2 separate regions of the Homo sapiens genome follow, and region 2 is linked to region 1. Evidence: promoter capture Hi-C in 16 types of primary human blood cells and fetal thymus (Javierre and others, 2016). All regions are on one chromosome and are shown on one strand. The core of a region is centred on a gene start or on the middle of the fragment in contact, and the rest is flanking DNA. Distances in the headings are between cores, read along the strand shown.

What was found. Contacts are between HindIII fragments. The CHiCAGO score rates a contact against its expected background, and 5 or more counts as called.
Region 2: a fragment that was not itself captured here is called in contact with the fragment with the promoter of GPRC5C in region 1 in 1 of 17 cell types (neutrophils); the score reaches 5.3 in neutrophils.

The regions. Positions count from the first base shown.
Region 1 is chr17:74,429,590-74,434,186 of GRCh38, forward strand. It overlaps GPRC5C (G protein-coupled receptor class C group 5 member C), which reads left to right and starts at 2,499. Exons shown (of 4, transcript NM_022036.4): 1 at 2,499-2,552. RefSeq lists a silencer at 1,372-1,511. The HindIII fragment of the contact is 4,765 bases long and covers 559-4,597 here.
Region 2 is chr17:74,644,344-74,648,835 of GRCh38, forward strand. No RefSeq gene overlaps it. Among named protein-coding and RNA genes, the nearest start is that of CD300E, 23 kb to the left of the region's middle. The HindIII fragment of the contact is 2,253 bases long and covers 1,131-3,383 here.

The DNA of each region.
Region 1 (4,597 bases), core at 1,249-3,748:
GGTGAAAACAGAGTTTGCAATGGGTTCTACGCCTACTGGGGTATTAAATCAAAGTGAAGGACATTTGGGGGCACAGAGGACCCTGTGGCTGGAGTCTCGGAAAGCAGCGCCACCTCCCACAGAACTTCCCTTCCAGCATCACAGGCTCGCTGGGTCCAGCAGCCCCCACCAGGGTCTGACTCATGGTGGAGGGGTCTCATGCCTTCTCCAACTCTTGCCTCCCCACTCTGGACCAGCACAGGCCCCCGGGACTAGAGCAGAGACCAACAGGGACCCTGAAGGCTGAAGCCCATGTCATCGGCCCCAAAGGACTTGCTTTGTCCTTTAAAGGCAAATCCTGCCCAGGAAGTGAGACGGAGTGAACACAAAAAGAGCAAACAGCTCTCAGGAAACCTCCCTACATATCCGCCGCCATCTACCATGCAGGGCTGGCAGTGGGCAGGGCTCCGCTGCTCCGTCCAGGCCTCAGATGCCCCAGCCTTTCCCCCGCCTGGGTCGGGAGGGAGTGGTAAAGAGTTGCCTTTTTGGAGAATCTAGGTAGGGAAAAGAGATTCCCAAAGCTTGAAAATAAATTGAAACAGATCTGCCAGATCCACAATTCATCTTTGGCTTCTTAAGGTCACAAGCAGTCTCGGGGACTATTTCCATTCCACCTTCCTCTAGCTCTTAGCTGGCTTTTCACATATGCTAATGAGCGGCCCCTCCCAGCACACTGTGTTCAGCACCAGTTGCCTGCTTCACGAGAACTAGTCCCAGCCCACAGTCACGGATGCCCCTCGCCTAGGTCTGACCCGCCGTTTGCCTTTCTAGCGTTGGCACTCAACTGCTTGGACCCTACAAGCGTTTGCCTCCCTGGCATGGGGGCCTCTGAATCTTAGGGTGGGAGGTGGAGCTACGGAAGGGAGCCCAGGAGTGAGCAACAGATCAGCAGCAGCACTGCGCCCCTCTTCTTAATATTGAAGAGACTTGAAACAATTCAGTCTTCGCCACCCCAGACCAGCCCGTGAGGGCAAGGCCAGGAAGGGATACAGGGTTCTAGAGAACCAGGGCCTCACCGCCAGCTCCGGCCGCTAAGCAAACATTCCCTCCAGGAGTCCGAGAAGCCGGTGTGCGAGGGGAGGAACCAGCCTGAGGTTTATCGCTCCAGCAACTCCGGGTGATTCATAGAGTTTAGACTCCCGGTTGTCGTAGACCGCGGCAGGCACGCAAACAAGCAGCCCGGGAGATACCCTCCCCTTTCCCAGCCCCCGCTCCTCCACCTTGCTACCCCCTAGCCCGTGACCAGCTGCCTCCCCTCCCCCTCGCGGGCGCTCAGGGTTGAGCAAACACTCCGGGCCGCCCGCCCCGCCACCAGCTGGCTCCGACCGGCGCACCGCTGGCGATCCCCCAGGCAATTCGGCGTCATGAGAACCGGCACCCCGAGACTCGGCGCCCTGCCCTCCCTCCGCGTCTCCAGGGCCCTGGCCAGGCCCAACAACCTCTCCCTCCTCTGTGCGCCTCAGCCCCTACGGGCCTCTGGCGCGGGCTAACTAGGCCTCGCTGCGGGCCCCCAGGACTGCGCACCCCACCCCCCGCGAGGCCAGCAGCCCCGGGGGAAGGCGGCCGGAAAATCTCTTGTTTATCGGGCTGGATAAGTACCAGCCTGGATTCGCTTCCCAATTTCTGCGGTCCAGCTTCAGCAGATTCCTGGGGCCGGAGGGGAAAGGGTGGCAACCCACAGATCCACCCCGGAACAGGGAGTGGGGGGTGGGGCTGGTGGGAACCTGACCTCCTGGAAAGGACGGACTCGGAGTCAGAGCCAACGTGTCCCGGAGCGCAGAGGCCCAGGGGGTCGCGCTAAACACTGTACCTCGGGGAACAAAACCGTGAAGGCTAATTAGGACAAGTCGGAGCAGGGAACGGGGACGCCGGGAGGGGAGAGCGCGCTCCGAGTTGGGCAGAACCTGGAACGGTCACAGGAAACCCGGGCGCGGGGTAGTCGGGCCGAGGGGGACCTTTGCCCACGGTCCAGAGTGGTCTGGACTCGGCCCACGCGTGAGAGGAGCGCTTGGTGACGATCCCACGTACGCTTGGTGACTGGTGGAGGTCCCAGAGAAGGACCGTGCGTGCAAAAGGCGAACCTCGGTGTGCGGTGTGTCCACGTGTGCAAGCTGGGGAGGGGAGGGGGCGCAGAAGGCGTGACAAAGACGGACTCTGTCTTGAGTGTGCGCCTCGCTCCGGCCCGCTCCCAGCGAACTGTGCCTGAAGTGTGTCTCACGGGAGGGCCAGGACGAAGGTGACAAAGGCTAGGTGTCCCCCACGGAGACGCGCCAAGGTAGCCCCGCGCGTGTCCGTAGGCGCGCTCTCTGGAAGACGCGGTGGGGGGTGCGCAGGGCTGCACCCTCACACCAATTGCCCCGGCGAAGGCCGAGCCCAGAAAGTGAGTGCGCGTGAGTGTGCGCGCGCCCGCATGCGGGGGCGTGGCAGTCAACAGCAACAACCCACACGCCGGCAGGGCCAGAAACTCCCATCTCCCTCACCAGCCGGAAAGTACGAGTCGGCTCAGCCTGGAGGTGAGTCGGGGCGGGGAGGGCCGGGCAGGCTTTGTTCCTGTGTAAACGGAGCGCACGTACCTGGAGCGCGGCGGGCGCCCGATTAGCGCCCTGAATGGAGGTGATGTAACGGTGATGCAGGCTCCAGCCCACCCTCGCCGAAAGCAAGGAGCCCTGCCTGGGGACAGGCCCGCGCGAGAGCGAGCAACCCAGCGCGCCTGGCTCAGCCTCGGTCCCAGGGAGAGGCAGGCCCTGCGTCCCGGCCCGGGCCCCGCCATCCCAGCCAGGACCGGGCCTGGCCCAGCGCCCCGCGCCGCGTCCCTCCCACCCCCGCCCGCCCCCCGCCTGGGGCTGGAGTTGGCCCCAAACGCTGCGCTGGAGCGGGGCCGGCGGCGAGTCCCAGGTAAGGGCTGCTGCCTTCCCGCTCCGCCGCCCGGAAGAGTCGGGTCGGGACGGCGGGGAGTGGGCGAGGGCAGAGGCGGGGGGACTGGACATCCTGCGGGCTGGGGACGCCGCGCCAACTCCGCTCGGTCGCTGAAAGTTTTCAAACCCGAGCCGGCTGGGGACTGGGGGGGTGGGGGAGCCCGGCGCTGCGGCTCGGGCTGGAGGGAGGGGAAACCACTCCATAATCGGGGTCTCCAAGAGGAGCCCCTCCACCGCCTGCCTCTCGGTGGGAGTCCGCGGTCACTCTCTCTCGTGGGTGGCGTCCTCTCTGCCGCCTGCTACTGTGGATGTGGAGGGCAGGTTTCTGTGGCCCTAAAAATGGGAGAGAGTGACTGGTTCCCTTGCTCCCCATTCCAGCCACCCAGGGAGCGCAGGTGTAGACCCCAGTACCGTCGACCCAAGTAGGGACGAGAGGGTTCAGAATCCCCCTGAGGGAAGTTTGGAAATTCAGACTATCAAAGCGCCTCCCCTTCTGGTAGCCTGGCCCCTAGATCCCGAACCCCCACTCCCGGCTGGCTTTTCCAGCGTCCTTTGCACCTCCATCCCCAGGCCCGCAGTGTTACACGCTGGAAGACCCAATCACTTACAAACTCCACGATCAAGATCCTAAAGCCCGGGAGAGGAGACTGTTGGAAGTAGGGTTTTGTGCTCCTGGAGCTTCCTCTCCCCGCCGGCCCCCCACCCCTGTGCCTTCAACTGGACTGGGGGAGGGAGTGCATTGGGGGGTGGGGCGCATTCCAGAGTGACATTCCAGAGCAGACCCTTGAAGATTTCCAAGTCTCAGAGAGCTCAGGGCATTTTGGCCCAAATGCCTGGTCTTGGTGCGGGGCAGGGGCAGGGGGATAGGGGTGGGGTGTCTAGGCTGAGGTTCGAGGAACCCCAACCCACCCCCCACCAACCTACACACTGAGGCCGCTCCTTCCAGGCACAGGCGTCTCCTGTGCGCCTTCTTATCGATGGGGTAAACGCCTGAGCGCCCTGCACAGAGGGGTGAGACAGTGGGACCTAACCAGGGACTGGGAGAGACCGATAGGAGTGGAGGCAGGAAGGCTGTCAGTCGGGCCATCGTCTTTCCCTATAGGCTCTTGAGTGTGTGGGATGGGAGGAAGGCAAGTGCTCTGTGGTATCCCTGGGGGAACCTCCCTGAAGAGTGCCCTGGTCACAGCACCCTTGAAGACAGCCATTGGCCATGGGTCAGTGTTGAGTTTGGTTGGCCCTGTGACGCGCTGGAGCTCTCTTTCCAGTGCGGTATCCTTGGCCCTGGTGGGTGGAGGGGGTCTCAGGCTTGTGTGTGGATGATGCTGGAGCGAGGAAGGGAGTTTTGCTCTGGAGAAGTGAGAAGGCCTGGCTGTCTCCCCGGTTGCTGGATGAAGCCACTTGTTGCTGGGGGAAACCAGTCAGGGCTGCTTGGGCCTCTGGGCCTCTGAGCCTCTGAGCCCACCAGGCCTCTGCGCCCCCTGGAGAGAGAAGGAGGGAGGAGGGAGGTTCAGCAACTGGACTGCACTGACTCACAGGAGAGCTGGGGGCAGGGTGGCTGAGCCTGGGGAAAGGCCGATTTCGGAGGCGATTAAAAATATTTGTACAACTGATTCCAGGGAAGTGAAGCAAAAGGCCCTTTTGTC
Region 2 (4,492 bases), core at 1,007-3,506, 210 kb after region 1:
ATGGGCTCAACATCAGGAGGGAGAGGACAGAGGAAAGAATCGGTGAACTTGAACACAGAACAATAGAAATTGTCTGATCTGAGCAAAAGAGAGAAAATAGACTTTAAAAGATGAACAGAGCCTTAGGTAGCTGTGGGACTGTAATAAAAGAGCAAACATTCATGTCATTGAAGTTCCAGAAGAAGAAAAGAAAGAAAGCAGAGTTGCAAAAAGGTATTTGAAAACATAACGGCTAAAATTTTCCCAGTTTCAGCAAGACATAAAGCTACAGATCCCAAGATAACTATCCTCAAAGTCAGTCAGAGCCTGGGTCTAAAAACCATTTTGAGCAGATTCCTGGAAAACTCAATCTCCAGTCCAAACATTCTTCTAACCTCAGACCTCCTTGCCATCCCTCTCCTTGATATCTGCACTTGAGCCGTCTCAAAGATGCATCCAACTCAACAAGTCCAAAGTAAACTCACAATTATGCCCTCCAGAAAGGAGTCCCATCACCTTACACTGTTTCCTAGTTTTCATCCCTGACCCCTCTGTGTCTTCATCCCCACACTCTGTCCTGCCTGGAGCCCATTCAATGTTGCCTCCTGTTAAAGCTCTCAGATTTGTCCATCTCTCTATCTCCTTCTCTGCCAACCTAGCCCAAGCTACCATCGTCTGTCAATAGCCTCCCAGGTGGTCTGCCCACGTTCACTCTTAGTTTTTCGCCACTGTGCAGCCAGAATGGTATTTTTGCAAACAAATCTGATCTTGCCACTCCCCCTGTAAGAAACATTAACAGCCTCCCAGGGCTCTTACAACTCCTCTACTGGACCTCAGTTTGGCCCCTGCTGACCTCCCAAGCCTCAAGCCATAATAACCTCCCACTTAATCCCCAAGGGGCAACCACAAAGATTTTGGTTCCTCAGACAGAACACATTCCCTTGATTACAGTGACTGTTCACACACTGTTTCCTGGGCCTAAAATGCTCCTTTCCTCTCTTTGCTTGGTTAACTCATACTCTTCCTCCAAATCTCAAATAAATTATCATTCATTCAACTCAACAAATATTTACTGGACACCTACTACATGCCAAATACCGTGCTAGGTGCTGGAATGCAGCAACAAACAAATCAAGCTTCTGTCCTCAGGAAGCTTACATTCTCCTAGGGGGAGGGGGAGAGGAGAAAATAAACACATATAAAATGTACCAGGTGGTCATAAGTGCCCCGAAGACAAAAAGGGTAGAGGGAGTGAGGGGAGGCAAATGCTATTGTATTAATATCTATAGAGAAGGTATCTATGATAAAGTGTTATCTTATTTTAACAGAGACCTGAAAGAAGGGTGGGAGCCACACTGACAGCTGCAGGTGAAGAGTGCAAGGTAGGCCGGGTGCGGTGGCTCACGCCTGTAATCCCAGCATTTTGGGAGGCCAAGGTGGGCGGATCACGAGGTCAGGAGATCGAGACCATCCTGGCTAACACGGTGAAACCCCGTCTCTACTAAAAATACAAAAAATTAGCTGGGCAAGGTGGCAGGCGTCTGTAGTCCCACCTACTCGGGAGGCTGAGGCAAGAGAATGGTGTGAACCCCAGGGGGCGGAGCCTGCAGTGAGCCGAGATCGCGCCACTGCACTCCAGCCTGGGTGACAGGAGACACCATCTCAAAAAAAAAAAAGAGTGCAAGGTAGAGGGGGCTGCTGTGCAAAAGTCCTGGGGTGGGAGCAGAGGCCACCATGGCTCAGGAAGAGGGAATGAGGGCAAGAGTGGAATGAGACGAGATCAGAAAGGAAACAGAGTCATCATTTAAGGGCCCATAGGCCTTAATAGGGAGTTGGATTTGACTCTGAATGATGCAGGGAGCCATTGGAGAATTACGTGACCTGGCTTACTTTAAAAGGATCACACGGGCTGCTGCGAGGAAAAAACAATTGACAGAGGTAAGGCAGGAAACTGGGAGACATGAATAAGCAATTGTAGCCTTCCAGGTGTGAGACAACGGTGGGCTAGGCCATGTGGGGGAAGTGGATGGGGTGAGACATCGCTGGAGCCCAGTTGAATCAATGCCCCTAATGGAAGTTCCCAGAGCACCTCCTTCTTCTATGGTGGTTGTAATGGGACATTTATTGGTGCACATTTGATTAATGTCTGTCTCCCCCTACTGGGCTATAAGCCTCAAGAAGGCAAGAAATGGGTCTTCTTTGCTCACCATTGCATTTCCAACATCCAGTGCCCACAATATATGCTCTATATAGTTTTCTTGAATGAATGAATGAATGAATGAACAAATACCCCAAAAACAAAAGCACAAACACACAATCCTTTAAGTCTACTTGGGAAGCCCAGCCTTCCCTGCTCTCTTGAGGCTCTGCAAGAAGCAGTCATGCAACATCCACTCCATGCCCAGCACCTTCCAGGCACAATATTAAAGAAGTGCAGGGGCCAGGTGCAGTGGCTCACCCCTGTAATCCCAGCACTTTGGGAGGCCGAGGTGGGTGGATCACAAGGTCGGGAGTTTGAGACCAGCCTGGCCAATATGTGAAACCCTGTCTCTACTAAAAATACAAAAATTAGCTGGGCATGGTGGCAGGCACCTGTAGTCCCAGCTACTCAGGAGACTGAGGCAGGAGAATCGCGTGAACCTGTGAGGTGGCAGTTGCAGTGAGCCAAGATCACACCACTGCACTCCAGCCTGAGCAACAGAGAGAGACTCTGTCACAAAAGAAAAAGAAAAAGAACAAGAGCAGGGCAGTGTGACATTTGCTACCCAGGTTCAGGTCCAGGGTCTGCCAGCCATGGCCAGAGACATAATAATTGCTAAGAATTACTGAGTTTACTTTGTTTCAGAGACCACTTTAGATGCTTTCTGTTATTACTTTGCTTAAATCCCGTGCAAGTCAAACAAAGTAGGTATTATTATTATTATCCAGATGCATAAACTGTATGGCACAATCACACATCCCTGGGTCCTCCCAGGAGGGCCACCACACTCTGAAACTCCAGTCTTTTCTATTTTTCAGAGACGGAGTCTCACTCTGTCGCCCAGGCTGGAGTGCAGTGGTGCAATCTCAGCTCACTGCGATCTTCACCTCCCAGGTTCAAGCGATTCTCCTGCCTCAGCCTCCCAAGTAGCTGGGATTACAGGTGCCCACAACCATGCCCAGTTGATGTGTGTGTGTGTGTGTGTGTGTGTGTGTGTGTGTGTTTAGTAGAGATGGAGTTTTGCCATGTTGGCCAAGCTGATCTCGAATTCCTGACCTCAGGTGATCAGCCTGCCTTGGCCTCCCAAAGTGCTGGGGTTACAGGCATGAGCCACCGCACCTGGCCTGAAACTCCTTTCCAAACCTAAGTTTAGATTTCCAATGCCACTGAAATCTCACCTAAATTCAGGGCAATCAGAGGGAGAAGCTTCTACACACCCCAAATCTCAGGCTGTCTCTCCATCTCCTTCCCTTGGTCAAGTGGCAACCTCCCAAGGACGGCCACAAGGCACCCAGAGCCCAGCTGCAGAGTCCACTGGCTCTGTGGGAGTCCTGGAGATAAAGGACACCACCGTCCCCTCTCAGATGCCCCAAGCTAAATGGACCCAGCAAAGCCTGGCCCAGCAGCTCCAACTGCTGTCTGTGGGGAAGCTGGCTGAAAGAGCTCCGGGGCAGGCTCCGTGTCTTATCTGTCCTGCAAATCCAGAGCTGTGGGTGCCAGGAGCCAAAGCCTCATTTCTGAGCCTGGTTTGTGTCCTAGCTTAGCCCAGATCCTAAAAGTCAGGAGATGAAGGAATGGCCATCATTCTTCTTGACTCAACTGCATGTTTGAGAACTAAGATGCCAGGACTCACAGTGACAGGAGAGGCAGTGCAGTCCCCCAGTGCATAGCAGCTGCACCCTGAGGCTGGTGTGTCTGAGCAAAGCCAATGCAGAGCTGCGGGCCCTACAGATCCCATGGGGAAGGAGGGAGAGGGGAGGGCAGGGGAGGGTAGCAGCTGAGGAGGGTTCTCACTGCCTCGCCTGAAGCTGAAACCTAGCATCCAGTGGGTGATAGTGCCTGGCACGTTGCATTTCCCAGGGATGGAAAAATGTACTTTTGTCCCCTCCAATCAGTTGGAGGTGTGCCTGGAAAAGTGAGTTGAGAAGGATGGGGCTGAGCTTGGGCCTCCTGGGCTATCACAGCCACTGAGTACTGAGTGAAGAGTGATGGCTGATGAGAGAGGGAAGCGAGGGTGGGTGTGCGTGTGCCAGGCTTTCACAGCTCCAGAGCTGAGCTGCTCCAGAGCTCATATCGATAGAGACAGAATAACTTCATCCACAGGATTCTGCCTGCTGAGAATCAGAAACAAGTTCCCTCTTCCTGGCCAGCCATGCCAAGAGCCCTCAGCTAGACCCGTCAGGATTCTAGGTCCCTAAGGGGCACGGAGCCTCCATGGACTGTCCTGTTTGTGGTTTTAGCCTCTGGGAACAGTTGGCTCCCATCTGACCCAGCAGCAGCCAGAAAACATCACCACACTTGATCCAAGAACCC